Linked DNA regions of Homo sapiens: all the other regions are linked to region 1. Evidence: promoter capture Hi-C in 16 types of primary human blood cells and fetal thymus (Javierre and others, 2016). All regions are on one chromosome and are shown on one strand. Each heading gives the region's core, a stretch centred on a gene start or on the middle of the fragment in contact. The rest is flanking DNA. Distances are from core to core; before and after follow the strand shown. Region 1 holds the start of GLMN (glomulin, FKBP associated protein). Region 2 overlaps EPHX4 (epoxide hydrolase 4). Region 3 overlaps BRDT (bromodomain testis associated). Region 4 overlaps EVI5 (ecotropic viral integration site 5). Region 5 overlaps EVI5 (ecotropic viral integration site 5). Region 6 overlaps EVI5 (ecotropic viral integration site 5).

What was found. Contacts are between HindIII fragments. The CHiCAGO score rates a contact against its expected background, and 5 or more counts as called.
Region 2: a contact is called between a fragment that was not itself captured here and the fragment with the promoter of GLMN in region 1, in 2 of 17 cell types (fetal thymus and endothelial precursors). The highest score is 7.1, in fetal thymus.
Region 3: a contact is called between a fragment that was not itself captured here and the fragment with the promoter of GLMN in region 1, in 1 of 17 cell types (megakaryocytes). The highest score is 5.8, in megakaryocytes.
Region 4: a fragment that was not itself captured here is called in contact with the fragment with the promoter of GLMN in region 1 in 12 of 17 cell types (naive CD4 T cells, naive CD8 T cells, activated CD4 T cells and 9 more); the score reaches 20.7 in naive CD4 T cells.
Region 5: a fragment that was not itself captured here is called in contact with the fragment with the promoter of GLMN in region 1 in 5 of 17 cell types (naive CD4 T cells, activated CD4 T cells, total CD8 T cells and 2 more); the score reaches 8.0 in naive CD4 T cells.
Region 6: a contact is called between a fragment that was not itself captured here and the fragment with the promoter of GLMN in region 1, in 1 of 17 cell types (total CD8 T cells). The highest score is 5.0, in total CD8 T cells.

Annotation. Positions count from the first base shown.
Region 1 is chr1:92,297,429-92,301,879 of GRCh38, forward strand. It overlaps GLMN (glomulin, FKBP associated protein), which reads right to left and starts at 1,559. Exons shown (of 19, transcript NM_053274.3): 1 at 1,497-1,559; 2 at 533-601; 3 at 1-101. The coding sequence starts at 571. It overlaps RPAP2 (RNA polymerase II associated protein 2), which reads left to right and starts at 1,631. Exons shown (of 13, transcript NM_024813.3): 1 at 1,631-1,718; 2 at 2,766-2,811; 3 at 4,048-4,162. The coding sequence starts at 1,646. RefSeq lists enhancers at 657-1,553, 1,125-1,594, 1,815-2,044 and a silencer at 1,056-1,393. The HindIII fragment of the contact is 769 bases long and covers 1,083-1,851 here.
Region 2 is chr1:92,030,523-92,034,862 of GRCh38, forward strand. EPHX4 (epoxide hydrolase 4) reads left to right here. Exons shown (of 7, transcript NM_173567.5): 2 at 1,983-2,068. Among named protein-coding and RNA genes, the nearest start is that of EPHX4, 2.7 kb to the left of the region's middle. The HindIII fragment of the contact is 1,642 bases long and covers 430-2,071 here.
Region 3 is chr1:92,013,126-92,017,135 of GRCh38, forward strand. It overlaps BRDT (bromodomain testis associated), which reads left to right. Exons shown (of 19, transcript NM_207189.4): 19 at 1,081-1,296. The coding sequence ends at 1,149. Among named protein-coding and RNA genes, the nearest start is that of EPHX4, 15 kb to the right of the region's middle. The HindIII fragment of the contact is 8,801 bases long and covers 1-4,010 here.
Region 4 is chr1:92,601,055-92,605,599 of GRCh38, forward strand. EVI5 (ecotropic viral integration site 5) reads right to left here. Exons shown (of 20, transcript NM_001350197.2): 18 at 4,253-4,348. Among named protein-coding and RNA genes, the nearest start is that of GFI1, 120 kb to the left of the region's middle. The HindIII fragment of the contact is 975 bases long and covers 1,672-2,646 here.
Region 5 is chr1:92,578,330-92,582,973 of GRCh38, forward strand. All of the region lies in intron 18 of EVI5 (ecotropic viral integration site 5), which reads right to left. It also overlaps the pseudogene LOC107985727. Among named protein-coding and RNA genes, the nearest start is that of GFI1, 94 kb to the left of the region's middle. The HindIII fragment of the contact is 445 bases long and covers 1,603-2,047 here.
Region 6 is chr1:92,552,393-92,556,874 of GRCh38, forward strand. All of the region lies in intron 19 of EVI5 (ecotropic viral integration site 5), which reads right to left. Among named protein-coding and RNA genes, the nearest start is that of GFI1, 68 kb to the left of the region's middle. The HindIII fragment of the contact is 3,128 bases long and covers 1,546-4,482 here.

The DNA.
Region 1 (4,451 bases), core at 309-2,808:
TCTAATAGCTGGTCTGTGTGCCCTTCTTCTATGCATCTTTGCCCAGCTAACTGAAATAGGCCAAAATCCTCTTCTTTAAAGTCTTGCTCTTCTAGGATTTGCTGGCAAAAAAAAAAAAAACCCAAAAAACAAACAAAAAAAAGTATATGCAAATAAAAATTAAATACAATAACTTCTTGATTTATCTATGAAAAAAGGAAATCTGTTTAAATTCTAGATAAATGTAACGTAAATAACACACGTATCAAAATTAGGATTACCCTAATAAATACTTTAATAAGTGACCTTGAAATCTACTGTACCAGTGAAATCTATGAAAAGGATCAGGATTAAAATGTAAAAGGTTATTTAGATAAGTATGTCACCTGGAGAAATAATCCAATCTGCCTCCCCCACTCATGCTCTTTACAGGTCAAAAAAAGCAAGGATTAAAGAAGATAAACAATTTGAGTGACCACAAATATAATTAAAAACAATCTGTGCCCTTCCCATATTTTGAAAGGTATTTAATTTTACAAAAATTAATACTTACACATCTCTTTATTATAGACTGAAGTTCCTCTACAGCCATTCTTATTTCTCCTAGTTTCGATGCTAAAATCTACAAATACAAAACACACTGTTAACTATCCGTGATATTACACTTAAGTATTCAAAAGTTATGTTTCAGTGTGATAAATTATTAGTAAATACAATAAAGAAAATGGAAAGTTTTTGTTGTTGTGTTTTTTGGTCCAATAGCATGCTAGGAGAAAATGTAAAGTTTTAAAGTTGAAATGTTATTACTGAATCTTAGTATGTTTGCCTAAGAAAATAAAGTGTTTTTTTAGAAGCCCTTATTGCATGTTTTAAGTTTTCTAGGAGCATAGTTTTGAAAGCTACTTTGAAGGAAAAAAAAACAAAAAAAACCTCTCGAGCACTCCCAAGAGGCGAGGCATATACGAACTAAAGGGCTTTTAAAAAGCAAAGCACTTCTTTTCTGAAAAAAAATTTCCAAAAGGTGGACCTGAAATCAAAATTCTAATCATCAGGGGATTTTTCATTTTTAATGTCTCACCTCACAAAAATTGGGGTGCAACACAAGCTTATCTATAGGGGGTGAAGATTCAGATGCCCTCCATTCCATTTCTCTCTAGGAGTTGCAGTCCCCAAAGTGATCAATCCAGCTAGTGAAATCACTGTATCACACGGAGACAAGACAACGGCGGCCTTCAGGAGGAGACCATCGCTTCTCCTGGCGGCAAGGCTCGGCCCCAAGCCCTCAGTAGGGGCGCGAGTCAGCCCGGTCCTCAGGGCAGCGCGCTGGAAGGCGAGTGAACACCCCAGCGCGCGTGCGGGCTGCATCAGAGGAAGCCATGTCTTCCGATTCCTGCTCGCCTAGGTGGGCAGGCTCCACCACCTCGCGTGGCCTAGTCGGCCCGCAGCACCAAGTCCGCCGCGGCTCACGGCCAACCGCGAGCCCTGGCCACCCTGAACCTCTCCACAACTCCACTTACCGGCCAGAACCCTCGCCTCTCCCAGCCGCCGCCACCTCCTCCGGCGTCTTAGCCCGCTCTTCTGGCCCCGCCCCGCGCTACGCGTAGGGAGGCGGGGCCTCGGGGCGAGACGCCGGAGCGTGTCCCCGTCCGGCAGACTACTCTCCCCCATGGCGGACTTCGCTGGGCCGTCTTCTGCCGGCCGCAAGGCCGGGGCTCCCCGCTGCTCTCGAAAAGCCGCAGGTAGGAGCAAGGATCTCTTCCCACTTTTGGACCCTGAAAGCTGGGCCCCGATCTCGAGTTATAGACCGCAGCGCGCGGGCGCTCCTGAAAGGCTGCTTCAGGGGAGGGGTTCTCCCAGGTAGAGTAGGCCGAAAGCTTCCCACCGCCGTCCGCACCTCCTGGGAAAGATTTCCTGGCCGCCCCTCACCCCTTTACGCCAGTGTTCCAAGATTTCCCTCACGCGGACTGTGGCCCCAGCCTCTGAGACAAAGGACAGTGGAGGCCCCGGGAACCCAGGCCTGGGGTCCCCGGGTTTCGGGGCAAGTGACTAGGGCAGCGTTGGCAGCTGGCCTTGAACCTAGGACCGGTCCTCCTTTCCAGATTGCTTGGGTGCCCAGTTCTTTAAGGTGCCGGACTCCCCTCTTCCCCCAGAGAGGACGTTTGGCAGACGGAGAGAGGTTTCCCCTAAAAGTACCCAGATCTCAGATTTTCAGGAGTGGTTAATTAAGCAACTATGATACAGAAGAAAATTCAATCCCCAAAGAGATACATTTTAACCAAGAAAAATTAGACAGTAATCAATTTGCAAAAACAAATTGCTCTCCCTTCCTATTTCATTTTGATTTACACACGATTGGACATAAAATATGTGGAAAAGAAGAAAAGGTGGTCTACAGTTTGTTATTTGTGTAGGAATCTATCTTGTACCTAATGTGTTTGTGTAGACCTGACCTACTGCCACCATGTGTAGCTTAACTGCGGGGATGCATTTTGAGAAATAAGTTGTTAGTCGATTTCATCCTTGTGTGACCATCATCGAGTGCACTTACACAAACCTAGATGGTACAGCCTACTTACACACTAGGCTATATGGTACAGCCTATTGCTCCCAGGCTACAAACCTGCACAGCATGTTACTGTACTAAGTACTGTAGGCAACTGTATATCTAAACATAGAAAAGGTACAGTAAAAATACAGTATTTTAATCTTATGAGACCGCTGTCTGTATGCTGTCCGTCGTTTACGGAAATGTCATTATGTAGCACATGACTGTATTTTTATTGTAGGTACTAAACAGACAAGTACTTTGAAACAAGAAGATGCTTCTAAAAGGTATGACAGCTACATGGACAACTACATTGGCATATCTACTTATCTTGTATTACTTGTACCAATTTTAAAACAATAATGGTTACCTTTTTTTTTTTAGAGAAAATTATCATGAGAGGGAAGGGAAAGATCTGGGAAGGCCTATAAATTCTCACATAGACTGTTACATTCCTCTACTCCAGGCTTTAAGAAAACCAAACTAAGCACTCAGACTGCTAGTGAAGGAATGAGTGTCTGTAGAAGGTGTTTGTTTTTCACCGCTTCAGGTACACTCTCCTTTTATTGCTTTATATGCCAGAGACTCACTCTCCAAGTTTCGCTGTCACTCCAAGAAACCTTTTCTGTTCTTTGTTACATCAAGTCCAGATTTTCATTAAAAAGCTGTCTTGTACTAGTTCTGGTTCTAAAAAGGCAAGATATTACCACATATCACACAGAGTTTCTAGAAGAGGAGTAGAATGTGAAGGGGATTAAAAGCATATGTAGCTATGATTTTTATTTTGTGAAGACTCACTAATCTTATATTGGCTTTGGTCTTAATTTACTCATTCTTTCAAAAATTATTTATTGAGTATAAGATATGTCGGACCTGTGTTAGGCTCTGAAGATATGGTGAACAGAATAGACACAGTTCTTGCCTAGTGGAACAGAGGAATAAATAATAATAAATTAATTAGTTAATTAACATAAACAAATACATAATTACAAATTGTGATAAGCACTATGAAGGAAAAGACTGTGATGTTACGAGAAGGAATAACGAAGTCTAATTTAGTTGGAGGTGGGTGGCAGGGAGGTTGGCTGTGAGTTTTCAGCGAAAGCCTTATGCTGAGACCTGCGTGCTAAGTAGACATTAACCATACAAAGAGTATATAAAGACTTATGTATGTGCAGTGCAAAAAGTAGCTTGTTTCCTTTTTGAAAAGTATTGGATCAAAAGTAACAGCATTAGAAAACAGAAATTTGGCCGGATGTGGTGGCTTATGCCGGTGATCCCAGCACTTTGGGAGGCTGAGGTGGGAGTGTTGCTTGAGGCCAGGAGCTCGAGACCAGTTTGAGCAACATAGTGAGACCTTGTCTCTACAATTAAAAAGAAATAAATATTTTTATTCAAAAAATTTTTTAAATATATTTAAATTTAAGTGGCAAAATAGTGAGTTAGGTTAGTATTGTATTTTAAAACATGGAATGTTGGACATGAAGCTTTTAAGTAGATTAAGTTTCTCTTTCAAATTTTAGGAAAGCTGAACTAGAAGCAGCTGTGAGAAAGAAGATTGAATTTGAGAGAAAAGCTCTACATATTGTTGAACAGCTTTTAGAGGAGAATATTACAGAAGAGTTCCTAATGGAGTGTGTATGTGTTAAGTTGACAAATTATTAGTTTTGTAGTATAACATCTTTAAATCTGTGCAGCATGAAACTTCTTTGCATTATTAGAATCTTTGAATTTGTTCTGAGTCATTAGATGCAGATAACAATCCATATAATTCATGCATTTAAAAATAAACAACTATCATGCATTCCTTGTATAATGACTTTAAAATGCACTAATGAAAAATAAGTACGTAACAAGGTGATGACACGTAATGTATATTTCAAAATTAATAAGAGTGGATTTCAAATGTTCTCACCACAAAGAAATG
Region 2 (4,340 bases), core at 1-2,500, 270 kb before region 1:
CACTCGGTCTTTGCAGGCACCTTGATTGGTTTCTGAATGTGGAACTTCTCTAATCAGGGGCCTCTTATATTACTGCCCCCCGGCGCCACAACAACCCAGAATAAACCTGCTCTTTTTCCTACTGCAAGGGGAAGCTGTCTCCTGTCACCCTTTTGCCCTTTAGAGCTCAGATCAGCTGTAGAGAATTGTTCCTCGTGGCATCCTAATGTCTCAGGAGGCTGTTCTTGCCCAATTTTAGAGATAATAAGAGTAAACAGTCAGTCTTTGGGAGTCATGAGTTTATTATGATCACAGACGACTTAGGTTGCATGAAACAATAAGTAAATTGTGTGTGTTGTGGGGAGGAATGCATACTTATGAAGTCAGGGACCAAAGAAAGGAATGGAATAAAAGGTAAATCCAGCCATGCCTGCAGACGCTAATTGTTCAAGCTTCCTCACAGCCCACAAATATTCTGTTTCCTGAGGCTCCAGGTGGTGAAGGGAAATAGTTCCCGTGATACACCCTGCAGTCTGACTCACAGGCCTTTCAAACCCAGCCTCATAAGAGGGGATGTTTATGTCACCAAGTCCTTATTTCCTGTTAGGAGCTAAATTGCCCCGCAGCTGAAGTTCAGAAGGGCAAGAGAACTTCTTTCTTGCCTGGGGTCGACATGAGAATTAAATAGGTTAATATTTATAAAAACAAACACGAAAAACTTAGAACAATGCCTGATGCATAGTCAGTGCAATAAAGTATCTGTTAATTAAATCCATTGCAGTGCCCATAACATTTAATCCTCCAAGACTCACCACCAATAAAAAAAGTTATTGAACCTCTAGGAAGCCATCGTGCAGCTGAGGGTAAAGTCAGATTTGTTATCTCTGTTCAACCTGAGGGGTAAAAGTAGTATAAGAACCATCTGGAATTCCATAAAACACTTTTCCCCTCGCTCTGGCCGCCTAAAGAGCTTCCCCAGAGACAGAGAACCGAGTGGAAAGAGCATTGTCCTGGGAGTTAGGACAAGATGGAGATTCTGGTCACAGCCCTGCTCTCAACCATTTTATGACTCATGTTACCATCTTTGGGCCTCATCTTCTGAATCTGCAAAATGATTCTTTCACATCTGAAAACTCAGTTGCTTGAGTTGCCTGCTATAAAAACCCAATGTCTGTGTTTAGCTTTTGGTTCTTTTTGTTTCCTAGCTTGCTTGCTTTCAGAGATTTTTATTCCTGCTGTTCCCTCTACTTTCCTCAATTCAGCCTGCTTAGTATTTGCTTGAATTCCTGACTCATTCCCATGTTTTTTTAATTTTCCTTGGGTTTTCTTGTCTCCTACATGCAGAGTGAAGTCTTGAGCACTCAGGGCATTCTCTTATTAGAAACGCACACTGACATGACATGAGCAGGCAGCAAGGGGAACAGAACATGCAACACTCAAAATAATAATGTGGGAAGGAGAGACCTAAAAATAAGAGAAGGAGGTGTGAATTATATAACTGATGGCACAGCTCTTGACGGGCAAGCTGAGAAAAGTAGATGACTAGGATGTAAACATGGCAGAAATATAAATTCAGATTAGAATTATTTACATGTCCTGCAGCATTTGAGGGAGATGAAATGTGACACATCAGTAAGATGAAAGTTACAAATGGTAAGATGAAAGTTACAAATTGTGACATTGCTTCAGAAGCTCATAATATATAAATTGACTGTACTAGAACAAGAAGAGAAGGTACTGTCAAGGGAGTGTTGACAAAGTGAATCTGTCAATTTACCCTATTAATAGGTCATGGGGTTTGCTTTTCTTTTTGAAAATTAATAAAAGTAAATATATTTCTTGATGTTAAAAATAAGGCAACTGAGTGTCATGAAGATATTGTAAATACACAAATGTTTTAAAATAAGGCAAGTTACTATTTTTTTAATGAAATGGAAATGCTAAATATATTGCTTTGTCAATCAACACAAACATCACTAAAATTCCATGCCCTCTACTTTCAGGATTCAGGGTTAAGATTTCACTATGTTGCTGCTGGAGAAAGAGGCAAACCACTTATGCTGCTGCTTCATGGATTTCCAGAATTCTGGTAAGCTTACCAACTAACATTTATTGTTACATTAAAACTTGGCTTATTTTCTCAGTTCATTTTGTGCTGCTGTAACAGAATATCACAGTCTGGGTAACTTAAAATGAACATAAATGATTTTCTCAGAGTTCTGGAGGCTGGGAAGTTCAGGATCAAGGTGCCAACATCTGACAAGGGCCTCCTTGCTGCAACATCACATGGCAGAGGAGGAAGGGCAAAGAAGCAAAAGGGGGCCGAAATTGCCCTTTCATAGTGGCATTATTTCCATCCATGAGGGCAGAGCCTGCATGACCTAACCACCTCTTAAAGGTCCCACCTCTTAATACTGTTACAATGGCAATTTTTGAGACAAGGTCTTACTCTGTCACCCAGGCTGGGGCACAGTGGCATGATCACAGCTCACTGCAGCTTTGAACTTCTGGGTTTAAGCAGTCTTCCCACCTCAGCCTACCAAGTAGCTGGGACTACAGGCATCTACCACCACACCTAGCTTTTTTTTTTTTTTTTGGAGGTGGGATCTTGCTATATTGCCTAGGCTGGTCTTGAAAGCCTGAGATCAAGCAATCCTCCCACCTTGGCCTCCTAAAGTGCTGGGATTACAGATGTAAGCCACCACGCCAAGCCTCTTGTAATGACTTTTAACAGACCCTACTTTTTGATCATGTGCCCAGAGTTAATATTCCTAAATGTTCCTGAATCACAGGTCTTTTTCCTCCTAAAAAGACCTACCTGCTACCAATTTAAATTTATATATTTTTTTGAGGATTAAAAGAAGTATCTTTTAATGTTTCAAATTTCTGAAATAGTAACAAAACAGTTTGTATAGAGTATCTACTATAGACAAAATACAACACTGGGTAGGGAAAGGAGATTTTAAACAAACCAAAGACGTGGAGTGATTGTTATTAGGAAGATTTTGGTGAGGCTGGGGTGAGGAGAAGGCAGAGTAGAGCACTTATGGAAACTGAAAATGAACTATTTCCTATGCACAGAGCAATAGGCTTATATGAATGCAGGATAATTTAAGTACCTAAATATTTCTCATTAGGAAGAAAATCTGGAGCCCCAAATATGTAATTATTAGTTACTATCTTCGTTCATTTTTGTTGCTAACAAAATACCTGAGACTGGGTAATTTATAAAGAATAGAAATTTATTTCTCACCGTTCTGGAGACTGGGAAATCCAAGATCAAGGCACCAGTAGGTTCAGAGTCTGGTGACATCCATGTCTGTGTGTGTCCAACATGGTGCCTTGTTGATGTGTCTTCTGGAGGCAAATAAACTTCATCATATGAATTTTGGGAGAACATATTCAGACCATAGCAGTTACCTAAGGGGAAGTGTTCTGTTCTCTATTGACCCCACTGGGCCAAATAAGTACAGATGAAAGCAACACATGTTTAAACTTTTTTTTTTTTTTTTTTTTTAATGAACATCTTTAAAAGAGGTGGTACATATCAGGAGGCCGAGGCGGGTGGATCACGAGGTCGGGAGATTGAAACCATCCTGGCTAACACGGTGAAACCCTGTCTCTACTAAAAATACAAAAAAAAAAAAAATTAGCTGTGCTTGGTGGCAGGCGCCTGTACTCCCAGCTACTCGGGAGGCTGAGGCAGGAGAATGGTGTGAACCCAGGAGGCGGAGCTTGCAGTGAGCCGAGCTCGTGCCACTGCACTCCAGCCTGGGCAACAGAGCGAGATTCCGTCTCAAAAAAAAAAAAAAAAAAAAAGGGTGGTACATATCATGGCAGTAAAAGAAAACCAGTTTTTATAGCACAGGGCTATAAGAAATAGTTCATAAACTAAATAGGTCAAGAAATTGATGTTTTTAAAAGCCCAGTTCCCTTAGTTGACTCAAAGGTGGAATATCTGGTATATTTTGAAAGGTCTAGGACAATATCCTGTCCCCAAATTCTCCCTTACTATCTTATAATTCCTAGAATTCCAGCATTACAGATTTCTTACCTCCTTTAGAGTCTTAAAGATTTTATGTCACTCAAAATCCTGATTTAAAATGCATCTAGTGCTGAAAGGATTACTACCTTAAGACGCTTCTTTTTTTTTTTTTTTTTAAACAGTCTTGCTCTGTTGCCCAGGCTAGAGTGCAGTGGTGCAATCTCAGCTCATTGCAACCTCCATCTCCTGGGTTCAAGTGATTCTCCAGCCTCAGCCTCCCAAGTAGCTGGGATTACAAGTGCGCACCACACCCAGCTAATTTTTGAAGTTTTAGTAGAGACAAAGTTTTACCATGTTAAACAGGCCAGGCTGGTCT
Region 3 (4,010 bases), core at 168-2,667, 280 kb before region 1:
GAGAATCACTTGAACCCAGGAGGCGGAGGTTGCAGTGAGCTGAGATCACGCCACTGCACTCCAGCCTGGGTGACAAAACGACACAATGTTTCAAAAAAAAAAAAAAAGATTAAAAAAAATGTAGTCTAGATTAAGATTTAAGAAGTATTTTTTTGTCTCTAAGGCAGATTTAAAGAAATTTATATGGTTTGTAAGAGTCAGACATACCTTTCAAATACTTTCAGTAGGTAAATCACAATTCCAAATATTTTCCCACATAGCTAATGAGAATGCTAATTCCCATTCAAGAAGCCAACCAACTGATTGCAAATTGGTGCTTTTACCTACCACTCTGGTCTGTTGCTGTTTATTGATTTATTTTTTAAAAATAATTTTGTGAACTTTAATATTTGGTGTCATCTCAGATGCTAAAGAATATCTATAAGGGCAGTTAGAAAAGGCTTCAGAATATAGTTGACATTTGTTTCCTTTGTCTTAATTAGCTTTTTCTCTACTTTGGCTTATTTTTTAAACAGCTTTTTCGTGATTAATATGGCATTTTGCTGAATGTTACATGTAATCTGATTCTTCATAAATGCCTATACATAGAATAGACTAGGTTACACAGTTAGTAAGTGGCAGAATCAAGGAAAGCCCATAGTTTTAGCATTACATATTATAGTTATCTCACATAACAAAGATATTGGTTCATTCAGAAAGTAATTTTGTGTGTCTGGCATTATGCTGGGTTTAGAAGTAAGACAGTGTGCTCTCAGCGTTCATGTTCTTATTCATACCCACTCTGTCAACATTGAACTTTCTCTTTTACTTGTAGGGAGGGGTCAAACTTATTCTTAGTGTTCTTGTAGGTTTTGTTTTTTATTTATTACATGAACAATATATTAACAAATCAGGTAATATTTGAACAGAAATAATTATGTACAAATTTATTGTTCAACCTGAGAAAATAAAAATTAAAAAATTATTGAATAGTTTTCTTTTGTATGATTTGTTCCTAAATGTTGCATAATCATTATTGTATAGTTGTAGTAAAGACATACATTTTTAAAGTAATATTAAAATTTTCTGCTTTTTCTACAGATGGTGGGTACCATTGATATGACCCTTCAAAGTGACATTATGACAATGTTTGAAAACAACTTTGATTAAAACTCAGTTTTTAAATTAACCATCAACTTAAAATGAATGGTAAAAGATCAAAATGCATATGGTAAAATGATTGCTTTCAGATAACAAGATACCAATCTTATATTGTATTTTGACTGCTCTAAAATGATTAAACAGTTTTCACTTACATTTTTAATAGCTATATGCTTATTTTTTAAACGACATAATTCAAAGGAAATTTAATAATTTTGGATCCCTAAAAATTGGACAAATTCCCAGATATTCGTTCATTCTATAAATAATTGTCTATATATTATAGGCCCTGTACTAAGCAATGAAAATCCAAAAGATAGCTCCTGCTTGTTTAAAAATGAAGAGTATGTTTTCTAATTCAATAAGTGAAAAATAATGAAGAATATATGAAAGTGTATAAAAAACATAGTTCCTGTTGAGTTTTTAACTTTTAAAACAAATATTCGTCTGCCTTCAAAAATATTTAGATTCTAACAAATAATACTTGGTTTCACTGAATGTCAGATTTCATAAGATTCTCAGCTGGTTCTATATTAAAAATTTATATTGAAATGTAGTTTTAAAGAAATATTGGCTGGAACTGCCAGTTGTGGTGGCTCATAACTATAATCCCAGCACTTTGGGAGACCAAGGTGGGCAGATTTCTTGAGCTCAGGAATTTGGGCCTGGGAAACAGGGTGAAACCTTGTCTCTACAAAAAATACAAAAAATCAGCTGGGTGTGGTGGTGCGCACCCGTGGTCCCAGCTACTTGGGAAGCTGAGGTGGGAAGATCACTTGAGCCCAGGAGGCAGAGGTTGCAGTGAGCTGAAATCACACCACTGCACTTCAGCCTGGGTGATAGAGTGAGACCCCTGCCTCTACAAAAAAAAAAAAACAAAAAAACAAATGAGGCATGGTGGCGCACTCCATGTAGTCCCAGCTACATAGAGGGCTGAAGCAGGAGGCTCATTTGAGCCCACGAGGTCAAGGCTGCAGTGAGCTGTGTTTGTGCCACTTCACTCCAGCCTAAGCAACAGAATGAGACCCTGTCTCAAAAAAAGAAAAAAAAAAAACAAGAAATATTGCCGATGGTTTGAAAGATGTTGAATTTGAGTCAAAATAACTAAAATATTTATTTGTAATATTTAATAGTGAATATTATGTATGTAAGTTTCTATATAAACTTATGAGATTTCTTAATATGCATATGTGATAGTAATGAATGTTTAAAATATTTAAACAACAATAAGACTTATTTAAATATTCTGTAAAATATTTCTCTTTTGTTATTTTCAAGTTGCAATTATGTGTAAATCATGTGTATCAGCTTAATGTATTTTAAAATTTTGAACTCTGGAAGTGTAACATGATTCAGGCAGTGTTCTGATACCATCTAAAGTAAAAATTCAAAGTGTATGTTTATTATAGAGAAAGAGAAAAAGTTATCTTGACTTCACTTATTTTTATAATTAATATGATAAATTTTTGACATATCTTTAAATTATCAGGCATGTGAAAAACATGATTAAGTAGTAACTAAATGGTGATGTGACCTTCATGACACAGCCAGAATTAAAGTGACAGGGTGGCTCACGCCTGTAACCCCAGCACTTTGGGAGGCTGAGACAGGCAGATTGCTTGAGCTCAGGAATTCAAGACCAGCCTGGGTAACATGTTGAGACTCTGTCTCTACAAAAATAATACAAAAATTAGTGGGGCATGGTGGCACGCACCTGTAGTCTCAGCTACTGGCAGTTGGTGGGCGGGGGGGGTGGGTCTCTTGAGCCTGGGAGGTCAAGACTGCAGTGAGCCAAGATCATGCCACTGCACTCCAGCCTGGGCAATGAGAGTGAGACCCTGTCTAAATAAATACATAAATAAATAAAGTGATAGTGTATTCTTATCCAACTATACCTCTTTTAATTAAGAAATCAGTTTGTGCTAAACAGTACAGATTGTCCTATGATTATATATATATATAAAATTTTATTTACATAATATAAAAGATTATAGAGAGCTATGTTTGGTTATTCTGTTTAACTGACTTGGCACTTAACCTCTTCTTAGGCTATAAGGGGCCTGGCACATTGCAGATAATCAACAAACTTTTAGTGGGTTAAAGTCAGTTTAGCAAATAAAAGTCAATACCATTAGTTTATAACCAATGCTTCCTATGTTATACATTATTTTTAGTAAAAGATTGGCTTCTCTTAACATCATGCATATAACTGTCTTCAACAAAAGCCTGATTTTGTGAAGACTCCGTTTCTGGCCCCATCTCACACCTGCTCCAACTCCTAGAACCTTTTTTTATTGTGTTTTCTAGAATCCGTGATAAGTCATCAATGATGTTCTCTACATAGTGAATCCTTTTGCTTTTTTCTTTCTTTTGTTCTGAGTTGTTCTGAATGTGTAGTCCCTGGACCACACAGCAATGCTTGGGAACTTTTTAGAAATGCAGATTCTCAGACTTAAGTCTTACTAAATCGGAAACTCTGGGTGTGGGGTCCAGCAATCTATAGTTGAACTAACCATCTAGGTCATTCTTGTACACACTGAAGTTTGAGATTCCCCTGCTCTCACAGAACTCTGGCTGTCTCCTGCAGCCTCTCATTTGGTGCTTGCTCTTGTGGTTTTTCTTATCTTTGTAGTGCTGCTTGTAGACCATTCTCTTTCTCACCTCCCTCCTCCCTAAAAACTTCCGTCTTAAAATTTTTCGTGATCATCAGACTATACCACCCATTGTCATTTACCATTCCTGGTTCACTCTTGTTCTCAGAGATTTTAGTCTCTACCTCACCGTCACTCTCCAAATGATACTTCTCAGTCCTTTGACCTCTCTGCTAATGATCTGGAGTAGCAAGATCAGCCTCAGCCACTCACTCCTTT
Region 4 (4,545 bases), core at 909-3,408, 300 kb after region 1:
ATGGTCAAAAACAAATGCAATAAGCATGAGCAGGCAAATACTGAAAAAATAGCAACAAATTTGGCAATTAGGATTCCAGTGACCACTTTATCAAGAGCCAGTTGATGATAATATACCCCTACTATAATAACAGTAACAATTCTATCACCTCACACCTGTTAGAATGGCCATTATCAAAAAGATGAAAGACAGTAAGTGCTGGAGAGGATGTGGTGAAAAGGGAACTCTTACACACTGTGGGTAGAAATGTAAATCCTCAAAAAATCAAAAACAGATGATATGATCTAACAATTCCACTACTGGGTATATATCCAAAGGAAATTAAATCAGTATGTTGAAAAGATATCTGCACTCCCGTGTTCACTGCATTATTCACAATAGCCAAGACATGCAACCAACCTAAATGTCCATCAGTAGATGAATGAATAAAGAAAAAGTGGTTTACATATACACAATGGAATATTATTCAATCTTAAAAAGGAAGGAAATTCTGTCATTCACAACAACATGAATGAGCCTGGAGAACCTTAAGTGAAATTGAAATAAGCTAGGCTCAGAAAGACAAACACTACATGATCTCACATGTGGGATACAAAAAGTTGAACTCAAAAGTACAGAGTAGAATGGTGGTTACCAGGGGCTAGATGCGGGGTTAGGGGTAAAGGATTGGAAGATGTTAAAAAAAATTCCATGAATTTTCTATTTTTCAAAAATAATGTAACACATTACATTTCATTTTAAACAAAAATCCTGCATACCAGGTTCTTCGTTTTAATAAATATTTCAGAATCAACAAAAAGAGTGATTTAAATTTTACTATTTTGTGATTAAGATGTATAGAAATATGGCAAATTCTTAGGATTTTCTTGATGTTTAGAAAAGTACAGACTAATGCTAAAATCACATACGATAGCATGATTTAAACAACTGATTACAAATATATTATGCAGTTGGCTCATGTCTGAGGTTTTTCTGAATATGTGCACTTTATGGGGACTACTACCAGCAGAACATAAAGGATACCTTTTTATAAACATACAAATCATAATGTGTTGTGGTTACTTTTGATCCAGATCAAAAAATGAAGTTATAATATAATATGTAAGTTTGGAAATTAATTACATTTGAAATTGAAATTTAAAGACAAAAGGAAATTTCAGGTGGGAAGAAAATTCTAGATGTTACAGCAAAGACTATTGTGACTTGGAGTACAATATAATTAAAGACTTTGAAAGACATAAGATTTTAAACATAGTATTTTGTCCATAGGGAAAACTTACTACTTTTATCATATTATACAAGAAGTAAGGCATAAGAAGTGACAAAACACATTTATTTTTATTAAAAAAATTTTTTTTTGAGACAAGGTCTCATTCTGTCACTCAGATTGGAGTGCAGTGGCTTGATCATAGCTCCTTGTAATATGGAACTCCTACTTCTGGCCTCAAGGGATCATTCCACCTTAGCCTTCCAAGTAGCCAGAGCTACAGGAGTGTACTATCATGCCCTCAGCTAATTTTTAAAAATTGTTTTGTAGAGACAGGGTCTTATTCTATTGCCCAGGCCGGTCTTGAACTCCTGGCCTCCAGCAATCCCCTGACCTTGGCCTCTCAAAGCACTGGGATTACAGGCATGAGTTACTGTGCCCTGTAAAAACATATTTATTTTTAAAGCTTTGAATTTTCTTTTGAAGATAGTTTTGATAATATAGAAATATGATAAATTTTCACTAAAAAATGGACTTGGAGCACAGTCAACACCACCAAAAAAAACAAAACAAAACAAAACCCAGGTACGTTGATTCAGCAAAATTAAAAACTTTTGTGATAAAAACACTATCAACAAAGAAAAGGCAACAAACATAATGGGAGAAAATATTTGCAAACCATATATATGATAAGAAAGTGATACTGAGAATATATAAATAACTCCTATAACTCAACAACAAAAACAACAAACAACCTGGTTCAATTAAGCAAAGGACCTGAATAGCCATTTCTCCAAAGAAGATATATAAATGCGAAATAAGCACATGAAAGTATGCCCAACATAGCTCATCATTAGGGAAATGCAAATCAAAACCACAATGAGATACCACTTCACACCCATTAGGATGGTACTTATAAAAACAACAACAGAAAATTAACAAGTGTTGGTGCAAATGCGGAAAAAATGAAATCCTCATGCATTGCTGGTAGAAATGTAAAATGGTGTAGGTTCTGTGGAAAATGGTATGGCAATTTCTTAAAAAAATTAAACAATTACTATATGATCCAGCAATTCCACTTCTACGTACTCAAAAGAAGTTAAAGCAGGGACCTGAACAGAAATTTGTACACCTGTATTCATAGCAGCATTATTCACAATAGCTCAAACATGGAAGCACCCTAAATGTCCATCAATGAATGAACAGATAAAAAATGTGGTATATACATACAATGGAATATTATTCAGCTTTAAAAATGAAGAAAATTTGTAAATATACTATAACATTATAAAAAATGGTTTTTCTTTCAATAATAAATTAACTTACTGTAAGTTTATTTATAAACTTCCAATTTTTTAAACTTTTTGACTCTTTTATAACATTTAGCTTAGCAAACATTGTACAGGTGTATAAAATTTTTTTTATATCTTTATTCTATAAGCTTTTTTCTATTTTTAATTTTAATTTTTAATAAATATATTTTTTGAAACAGGGTCTTACTCTGTGGCCCAGGCTGGAGTGCAGTGCTGTGATCATGGCTTACTGCAGCCTTGACCTCCCAGGCTCAGGCAACCCACCCACCTCAGCCTCCTAAGTAACCGCGACTGGGACTATAGGTGCACCACCAGGTCCAACTAATTTTATTTTGTATTTTTTGTAGAGAGGGAGTCTCACTTTGTTTGTCAGGTTGGTTTCAAACTCTTGGGCTCAAGATCTGCCTGCCTCAGCCTCCCAAAGTGCTGAGATTACAGGCATGAGTCATTACACCTGATGAACAAAAAATTTTTTAAGTTAAAAAAAAATTAAGGCTGGGCGCAGTGGCTCATGCTTGTAATCCCAGCACTGTGGAAGGCAGAGGTGGGCGGATCACTTAAGCCCAGGAGTTCGAAACCAGCCTGGCCAGCAAAGGGAGACCTCATTGCTACTAAATAAATAAATAAATAAATAAATAAGCTGGGTGTGGTCATGTGTGCCTGTAGTCCCAGGTACTCGGGAAGCTGATGAGGACTGCTTGAGCCAGGAGTTGGAGTCTGCAGTGAGCTATGACTGTGCCACTAAACTCCGGTCTGGGCAACAGAGTGAGATCCTGCCTCAAAAAAAAAAAAAATTAAAACATTTGTGTTAAAAACTAAGATATTAGCTTAGGCCTACACAGGGTCAGCACCACCAATATCACTATCTTCAACCTCCACATCTTGTCCCACTGGAAGGTCTTCAGGGACAATAACACACATGAAGCTGTCATCTCCTATGAAAACAATGCCTTCTGGAAAACCTCCTGAAGGATCTGAGACTGTCTTAGAGTTAACTCTTGTTTTGTATAAGTAGAATTAGACTCTAAAATAGCAATATTAGTATAGCAAAACAACAAATAGTATAGCAAACATATGAACCAGTAACATAGTCATTTATTATCAAGTATTATGTGCTATACACAACTGTACGTGCTACACTTTTATAAGAGTGGCAGTGCAGTGGGTTTGTTTATACCAGCCTCATCACAAACACATGAGTAATGTGTTGCACTATAACATAATGATGGCTATAGTCACTAGGCAAAAGGAATTTTTCAGCTTCATTATCATCCTATGGGACCATTACCATATATGCTGTCCGTCACTGAAATGTCCTTATGCAGCATATGACTGTATTGTATGATCCCACTTATATGAGGTAACCAGAGTGGTCAAACTCATAGAGACAAAGTAGAATGGTGGTTTCCAGTTGCTGGTGGTTGCCAGTTGCTGGGGAATGGGAAGTTAGTGTTTAATGGGCAAAGAGGTTCAGTTAGGGAGGATGAAAAAGTTCTGGATATGGATGGTGGTGATGGCTGCACAACAGTGTCAAATATACTTAATGCTGCAGAACTGTATACTTTAAAATGGTAAGTTTTATGTCTATTTTACCACAATAAAAAAAAATTGGAAATGAATGATTACTGAAAAAAGAATCACAGTCACGAGGATAAAGAGTAAGTTACTGTTCAGACAAAGAGGATAGAAGAAACTATATTTTTACATGTACTTTATTATTTTCATATGGTACCTGGATTTCAAGCTCAGCAATGTGTTGTCGTAGTTCAGCCACAGCAGCTATGCTATCTGCTTCCCGAAGCCTCACAGCCATCACTTCTTCCTTATTCTAGTGTGGTAAACCAAACCGAAACAAAATAAACCAGGTGTGTTTGGAATTCAGATTTTAGAAAAGTAATAGGTTGCATAAACCATACGTTAAGTATTATCTAGCAGGGTCTAAGGCAGCATCCATAATGAAACAATATGCTCAATACATACAACGAAGCAGTGAGATATAAATGTTCACATCAAGTGGAATAAATA
Region 5 (4,644 bases), core at 575-3,074, 280 kb after region 1:
ATACTAAATCCTCTTTTTTTTGGCATGGCCTCTTTACCTGTGTGTATCCTCATAGGTGGCTTGAACTGAACATAGCCTGGGCCTGGCCCCAAAAGCACTAGAGATTTAAAATGGACGGCCGGGCGCCTGTAATCTCAGCACTATGGGAGGCTGAGGCGGGCGGATTACGAGGTCAGGAGATCGAGACCATCCTGGCTAACACGGTGAAACCCCGTATCTACTAAACAAAATACAAAAAATTAGCTGGGCGTGGTGGCGGGTGCCTGTAGTCCCAGCTACTCGGGAGGCTGAGGCAGGAGAATGGCGTGAACCCGGAAGGCAGAGCTTCCAGTGAGCTGAGATCGCGCCACTGCACTCCAGCCTGGGAGACAGAGCAAGACTCTGTCTAAAAAAAAAAAAAAAAGAAAAGAAAATGGACTCAGTGGTTAAGTAACTTATCAAGGACCACATGACTAGCCAGGAAAAAGCAAGGAGTAGAAGCCAGGTTTCACTCTTAGTCCCATTCTCTTTATATCATTATAAATGGCTCCAATATAAACCATGGTTTTGTTTGTTTGTTTTTAAATAGAGACCAAGTCTTGCTACATTGCCCAGGTTGGTCTCAAACTCTTGGGCTCAAGTGATCCTCCTGCCTCAGTCTCGCAAAGTGCTGGTATTACAGGTGTGAGTCATCATACCCAGCCTAAACCTAAAATCAGGATTTTGATTTGAGACAGATCATAGCAGGACATGTGCTAGAATTGTTTTTCTAAAAATGCAGTACTTATTTTATGTTATTCATGTATCTTTTCTTGAGCCCTCTGTAAAGAGTGATATCAAGTCAAAGTTGGGAAGCAAAGCTGTCAAAGTTTCTCGTGTATCTTCTGTAGCATTGGATGATCAGATGGCTCCTAAATATTCATCTTATTAATAAACCATTCCCTTCCCTAGTCTGTCTGAATGGCCTATGAAGAGTTTATTTTGCCAAAAAATATTTAAATCAACTGATCAGACTATTAGTGTATTCAAATTTAATAAGAGAGCCAATGGAAGGAGGCCAGTGTGGAAAACCAGATTATAATTACTTACGAATCCCTTCTCATATGAAGTCAAGGGAGACCAAGGTACAAAAAATAAAACAAAGATAAATCAAAGACAGCCTATAAAAAATATCAATGGTATTTTATATATTTCACGGAAATAATATACTATAAAATTAATTTCCTTTTTCAGCAATTTTAATGTGATGGTTTGGTTTTACTGTGACTAATACAGTTATTAATAGCCATTTTTCCCCTCTGTATACATTTCTCCATTACTATTTATTACTTTTAGCTTATAAATGGGAGTTCACCTTTTGTATAGAAAGATCTAAATGTTTGAGGGGAAAAAACTAGAAAAAATAGTTTTAACTAAAAAACAAAAGAAAGATATGAGCTCTCAAACTCCTGGGTTCAAGTGATCCACCCGTCTTGGCCTCCCAAAGTGCTGAGATTACAGGTGTGAGCCCCCGTGCCCAACCTAAATTATTTAACTTAAACGGTCGCTTGTGATTAATAAACAAAGTAGAAATGTATTATAGTTTGTACTATCTATTTTACAAATGATAATACTGAATCTTCAAGCTTCTCTTTAACCTTTCATTGTGAATAAACAATGACTCAGGGAGAAGGAACATTTAGAATAATAATCATATATGTATTATTAAAGTAGAAACAATGAAACCTTCAGAATGACAATGTATTTTTGTTGGAATTTTGTATCTATCATTATCGCTATACACTTATCTGATCAAGCTAAAGAAAACCCATGAGGCTAATGCTTGAACAAGAATGGCATTTAAAATTAATTTATATGTAAACATTTTTTTCAGCAAAATTCTAGAAGTTTGTCCATTTTAGAGTCATTCTTTCCTGTTTAATCCAAAAATCAAATTCCACCCAGCAAGGACTGCTATTCCAATAATGTTGTAATCTTTTGCAATTGTCTGCTAGTGATCCTGATTCATATATTGCATTCATAACAACCAAAAATAAAAGAATATTTAATTAACACTAGGCATTCTAAAAGCTTCAAAGCTTAAGTAATAAATTTTAAAAACCAATCAATGATAGTTAAAGTAAGGGGTTCTCAATTTTACATATTTTGTTAAGCTTTATTGTACAGACTAAAATTTTGGTTTTGTAGGCTCAGTATTACTAAGTTGCTTATTGTATTTAGTAGTTTCTTGTATCACCTCTTGTAAGTATCCAATTCGTTCATCACCAAAGTCATTAGGTTTTTCTTCTGAGAGGGAGGTGCCAAAACATGCTTTTTCAGTTGAATTTTGTGTTTTATCTTGCTTGCCATAACATTGCTGCATACACCTTCCATTCCTGCAAATACACTGAGCCTTGTCAGAACCAACAGTCTTATGTCTCCTAAATTAGTCCTTCATGCACTGGTTGCCCAGGGCTTTGATGTCTGGGGGCAGAACCAGGTGCAGCTGCAAGATATGTCTATACAAGGCCTGGACACAGCACTCTGTGGGTGGACTACCAGCCACTTGTTCAAAGGGCTATCTTATCTTTCAATCTGTTAATTTTATTGAATTAATGTTAAGTTGTTTTACAGTGTGAAGCAACTGTAATTCTTCTTATCCTTGAATTACCTTTCTTCTTGGTTGGGATTTTTGGTTTTGTGAATGGTATTTCTTTCTGCTAAATAATAATCAATAATAATTAATAAATAATATAAACTAAATTGTTGTGCTATTTCTTTTCACCATGTTCATGGCTAGGTGATTGTCCACATATTCCAAGTACGCTAATGATATGGATGACACTAACTATCTCTCCACCATATTTGAGATCTATTTCCTTTGCCTTCCAAGCTCAAGCTTGTTCTCACTTTTCTATAGTCTCAGGAAAATGCACAGTGAAAGAAAAAACCTAGCTAAACAAGGGCTCTTCTTACTCTTCTGAGATTTTGTTAAATATCTTGTACTACCTAGTTGGGGGAATATATCACAAAACCTGAGTTTTAGGATTCAGATCATTTCCCATATTCAGTGTGTTGCCCTAGGGCCTTCACTTAAGAGTGAGGTGTCACTTTTCTGATCTCTTTCACTTGGTTATCCTTTGCAGAAGTTTCTACCACTCCTCAGTCAGAAGATTACATACTCATTTTCCTTCTCTCCACATGTGAGATATAAATGAATTCTCCTGGGATTTTGCTGACTTACACAGCCTGGAAATGGGATAGATAGTCAAGGTTAGAAGCCAAGCCCTGGCAGGCCTCTCTGCTCTACCACTGTCTGCTTCTTTTGTTAGCTGTCACTTTTTAAAGTTTATTGCATTAGGTTATGTTCCTTTTCCTCTCAGGTTTATTGGGCAAGTTTTTGCTTAAAAAAAAAAAAACTATTTACTATTTTGTTAGATAGTTGGGGTAGGTAATTCTGGGAGTTTCAAGCCATCTTTGGTGCAACATTTATTTAAATAAAGTATGTAAAGGAATCTTTACACAGAAAGTACTTAAAACCTGCTACCTGCTCTTATGGCATAGAAGGTCAATACATGACTATTTTCTCCCTCCTAAAATTCATTCAGCAACTATTTGTTGAGCACCTGTGATATGCCAGGCACCAGGCATACAGCAGTAAATAAGACAAACAAGGTTCTAATGTAGTCACGACTCGCTTAACAATGGGGATACATTCTGAGAAATGTGTTGTTAGGGGATTTCATCGTTGTGTGAACACCGTAGGGTGTATTTACACAAACTTAAATGGTAGTGCCCACTATACATTTAGACTATACAGTATAGCCTACTGTTCCTGGGCTACAAATATGTACAGCATGTTACCGTATGGAATACTGTAGGCAACTGTAACACAGTGGTTAAGTATTTGTGTGTCTAAATATTTAAACATAGAAAAGGTACAGAACACATACTGTCTCATAATCTTATGGGACCCAGATGATATATGTGGTCCATCGTTGACTGAAACATCATGGGGTGTGAGAGTTAATTTTTAAAGTAAAAATAATTTCAGGCACTGACAAGAGCCATAAAGAATATAAGACATGATAATGAGACACAGTAACAATGTGAGGGGCCTACTTTACAAAGGTGGTCAGGCAGTGACTTATATCTAGGCTGAGATTTAAATGATGAGAAGGTATCAGTCATGGGAAGATTAGGGAGCACAGAATTGCAATCATAAAAAAGAGCACAAGCAAAAGCCTTAATGTAGGAATGAAAGAGCTTGATTCAAGAAAAAAAAAGGAGGTGAGTAGTTGCTAGAACTAACTGGTGAAGGAGAATGCCATTTAAAATGGGTCAGAGAAATGGGCAGGAGCCAGACAACACTCAGGGACTTTAAGGCCAGAAAAAAAGGTGGCCCTTTTGCTTGGTAGCCCAAGTTTCCTTTGTTACTTTTTCCCTATAATTATCTGGAAGTTCTAGTTCTTATTTCCTTTCTAGCAACAGTTACTTTAAATGTCATTTAAATATACATAAAATATTATAATGATAATCATATAAATTCATAAAGAATAAAAAGTGAACTCATATCCTCTACTCTTTTGCACCAAGCCCTTTACTATCTCCTGAAGGAATATTTCAACAGTTTTGACAGGATCACTGCAGCCAATTTCAATGCATTTAAGTACATATGCATGTAAC
Region 6 (4,482 bases), core at 1,860-4,359, 260 kb after region 1:
TTTCTGAACTATTAAATACTCTCTATCAGTGCCAACCACATAGTCTTTATCAAATTAACTTTTCCACTTTTCCCCACCAAACTAAAAGTTCCCTGAGAGTAGGGCCACTCTTCTCATTGTGTCTAGGACAATGTTAGAAAAAATTCCATCTAATGCAGCTTAATATCCAAGACTGACTTTACAATTCCACCTGGTTCTGTTTCTTGACCAGTGTGATATATCCCTTGAAGATATTTATTTGGTCCTCTGAGTATCAGATTCAAATCCCTTGTTTTACGTTGATTCTGTATTCTTTAAGTTGGCTGCGCACTCGAATTTTTTCCTAGAAATCTCTTAACAAACCCTCTGGAGGCATACCCTACCTTAGTTAATATTCCTAAGAGACTTCCTTACTTGGTTTCTTACATTTTTAAGTTCGAATATTTTTCCTCACCTGATTTTTAATTGCGATTTTTTTCTTTTCTAGGTGGTTTCCTTATCTAGCATCTTACCCCTCTCCTACTAGATCTTTGTGTTCATGTTTTCATTAATTAACCCCAGTTTCTTAATGAAATTACTATCATGAGAGGCACATGTTTTCATTAACAAGTTAAAATTTTTTTTTTTACCCATTGCAGGAATTACATACACAGATGCATAAAATGGGTAGAACACCAATTATACTTTATGAATATAACATAAAACTGAAAAGTGGTCTGAAAGTCTTGAATAAAGTAAGGTATCCTGTGTGGGATTATTTATTTATTTATTTATTTTGAGACAGGGTTTCGCTCTGTCACCCAGGCTGGAACGCAGTGGTACAATCTCGGCTCACTGCAACCTCTGCCTCCCAGGCTCAAGAGATCTTCCCATCTCAGCCTCCCAAGTAGCTGGAACTATAGGGGCATGCCACCACACCTGGCCAATTTTTTTTTTTTTTTTTTTTTTTGAGATGGAGTCTCACTCTGCCACCCAGGCTGGAGTGCAGTGGCACAATCTCGGCTCGCTGCAACCTCTGCCTCCTGGGTTCAAGCGATTCTCCTGCCTCAGCCTCTCCAGTAGCTGGGATTACAGGCGTGCACCACCACGCCCGGCTAATTTTTGTATTTTTAGTAGAGACAGGCTTTCTCCATGTTGGTCAGGCTGTTCTCGAACTCCTGATCTTGTGATCCCTCTGCCTCGGCCTCCCAAAGTGCTGGGATTACAGGCGTGAGCCACCGTGCCCAGCCAATTTTTGTATTTTTTTGGTAGAGGGTTTTGCCATATTGCCCAAGTTGGTCTCAAACTCCTGGGCTCATGCAATCAGCCAACCTCGGTCTCACATAGTGGTGGAATCACAGGTGTGAGCCACCACGCCCTGCCCCTGTATGTGATTATTACAGTTTTTCCCAGACTACAGTATGTTATACATTCTTTTAAATGGCAAGAAATACATGGAGAAACATATTGCCTTGGAGATTTAAAAAAATTAATCTGGAAACATTGGTGGAAGTTTGCCACCAGTTAAACTTCAAACTCTTCAAACAGAATGCTTTTAACAGCAAAGCTAATTTGTGTCTTTGAATAAGCTTGTATTTCCTAAATAAGAGGCATATATGAATTGGATTGACTTTTTGTCAAGTTCTGTGTTTCTCAAAACATCAAACATGGCTAGGAAAACTGCCTGTTTTCAGAAAGTCATCAAATATTTAAAAGCTACAATGCTAGTAGCACCAAATGGAAATTGAAGCAGAATCTGAATGTCAAGTTGGACAAATTCTGCAGTCTTAGATAGAATAGAAGTGCAGAAGCTGCTACAGAAAGAAAAATAAAGAATATGAGCTATGAGTAGATTTTTACTAACTAGATGTTAGGTTCTCATCTGAGAGAAGCAATTCAATTTAATTCAATTAAACAAATGCTTATAGAACTCCTACTATGTTTAATATGTCGCCATTAAATGGGCCAGCAGGATCATGGTAGGGCAGTGGGATGCAGCAGATCAGAAGTTAGAATGCCCAGGCATGAGTTCCATCTCAGCTACGAACTAGCTTTGTAACTTTGGGTAAGTCCCTTAACCAGGACCTCAGCTTCCTCATTTATCAAATGAAAAACAAGATAAATTTTAAGAACACTTCTGGTTTAAAAAATATGATTCTTAAATCTCAGCTTTAAGTATTTTACATAGCGCTATTGTTCCAAATATAAAAATCTGCACAATAATTTCTAAAATGGACTTTAAATAAGATAAACTGCTTATCCAAGATAAAACAGAACATATAAGAGGAAAAGGAGTAATAGCTACTCATTTAAAGAAGTCATTAAGAATGAGTTTTTGCTGGGCACAGTAGTTGATGCCTGTAATCCCAGCACTTTCAGAGGCCAAGACAGGGAGATCCCTTGAGCCCAGGAGTTCCAGACCAGCCTTGGCAACACAGTGAGACCCTGTCTCTACAAAAACAAAAACAAAAACAAACCAACCAACCCAGGTGCAGTCTCGCACACCTGTAGTCCCAGCTACTCAGGAGGCTGAGGTCGGAGGATCACTTGAGCCCAGCAGGTTGAGGCTGCAGTGAGTGGTGATGGCACCACTGCACTCCAGCTGGGCCACAGAGCAAGACCTTGTCTCCAGAAAAAAGAAAGAAAGAAAGAAAAGAATGGGTTTTTAAAATATAAGTGGAGGCTGTAAGATTAAAAAGCAGTGTATGCATTTGATGGGCTTAAAGCAATTTTCACAGAATGGCAAATACAATCTTTCATTATCTACATGGGACCTTCTGGGTAGGGGGATAAAAACCCTATTTACTTGGTTGTATGAGATCCTGAAACTTCTGCATGGTACTTTACACTGCTCTAATTAGAGAAAGAACAAATTTAAGGGAATAATTTCTTTTATTAAGAAGCTGCCACACTGGGAAAACTAATACTTTCTATTATAAAAATATTCAGGATAGCTTGTAACTCCATACACTGAAGTTCTTCTTAAACATTAAAATTTTCTTAAAAGTTAAAATTCACTCACCAGTACAAATAGATAGCACTGTTTTTAATTCTTATTTCTGTTTCTAGAAGTAGACTATTGTTATCAATGAAGTTTTACAGTAAGAATGTTAATTCTCTTCTTGAGTACCACTCTGTAAACTAGGTAACATACTTGGAACTTTGTGTTACCTAAAAGGAAATAAAGACTGGTAGAAATAGAAATAAGAATAAGCATGGCCGGGCGTGGTGGCTCATGCTTGTAATCCTAGCACTTTGGGAGGCCGAGGGGCACAGACTGCCTGAGCTCAGGAGTTCAAGACCAGCCTGGGCAACACGGTGAAACCCTGTGTCTGCTAAGATACAAAAAATTAACCAGGTGTGGCGGCATGTGCCTGTAGTCCCAGCTACTTAGGAGGCTGAGGCAGGAGAATCACTCGAACCCAGGAGGTGGAGGTTGCAGTGAGCCGAGACTGTGCCACTGCAATCCAACCTGGGTGACAGAGTGAAACTCGTCTCAAAAAAAAAAAAAAAAAAAGGAATAAGCATGAAGTTAAATAAACCAAAAAACAGTATCATTCAGTATGAAATAAAGAAAAAAAATAGCTGCCAACAACTACAGAACCAGATGACTAAGTTCTTTTCTACCTTTAGTATTTTAGTTTTAATCCCTAGATGAAGAGCAATGCTGAATGAGCCTTAAAAAGATCTTATTAACCACTTTTTTCTTTCTTTCTTTTTTTTTTTTTTCTGAGATGAAGTCTTGTTCTGTCCCCCAGCCTGGAGTGCAGTGGTGTGATCTTGGCTCACTGCAACCTCCGCCTCCTGGGTTCAAGCGATTCTCCTGCCACAGCCTCCCCAGTAGCTGAGATTACAGGTGCACACCACCATGCCTGGCTAATTTTTGTATTTTTAGTAGAGACGGGGTTTCACCATGTTGGCCAGCCTGGGCTCAAACTCCTGACCTTGTGATTCACCCGCCTCGGCTTCCCAAAGTGTTGGGATTACAGGCGTGAGCCACTGCTTTAAATAGAAAAATACAAGCATAAGGAAAAAAAAATCCAAAGAAATATAAGAGGACATATAGTAAGTTCTCACTTAAAGTTTTCCATAGGTTCTTGGAAACTGTCATTTTAAGTAAGATGACATATAAAGAAACCAAACTTTTCCCCTCATCATCATAAACAAAACGACATTATTCATGGACATGTTATATGTCTTTCACTCTGAAGTCTCAGTTTCCAAGAACCTACTGACAATGTTAAGTGAGGACTTAATGTATTGTCATCTGATTGTTAAAGTTCCTTATTTCAAAAATTCCAGTTTAGTAACAAAATGAGTACATGTATTAAAAACTACATTAAGAATATCTAGGACATTAAAAATACTTTTTGATATATATTTAAATCCATAGCTCAGGTTTATATAAACAGATATCAGAATTTAAAAACTTAAGGAATATTCACATAATTTTTTTCTTACCCTTTTATTTTTTTTTTAGAGTTAGGGTCTCACTGTCACCTAGGCTGGAGTGCAGTGGCATGA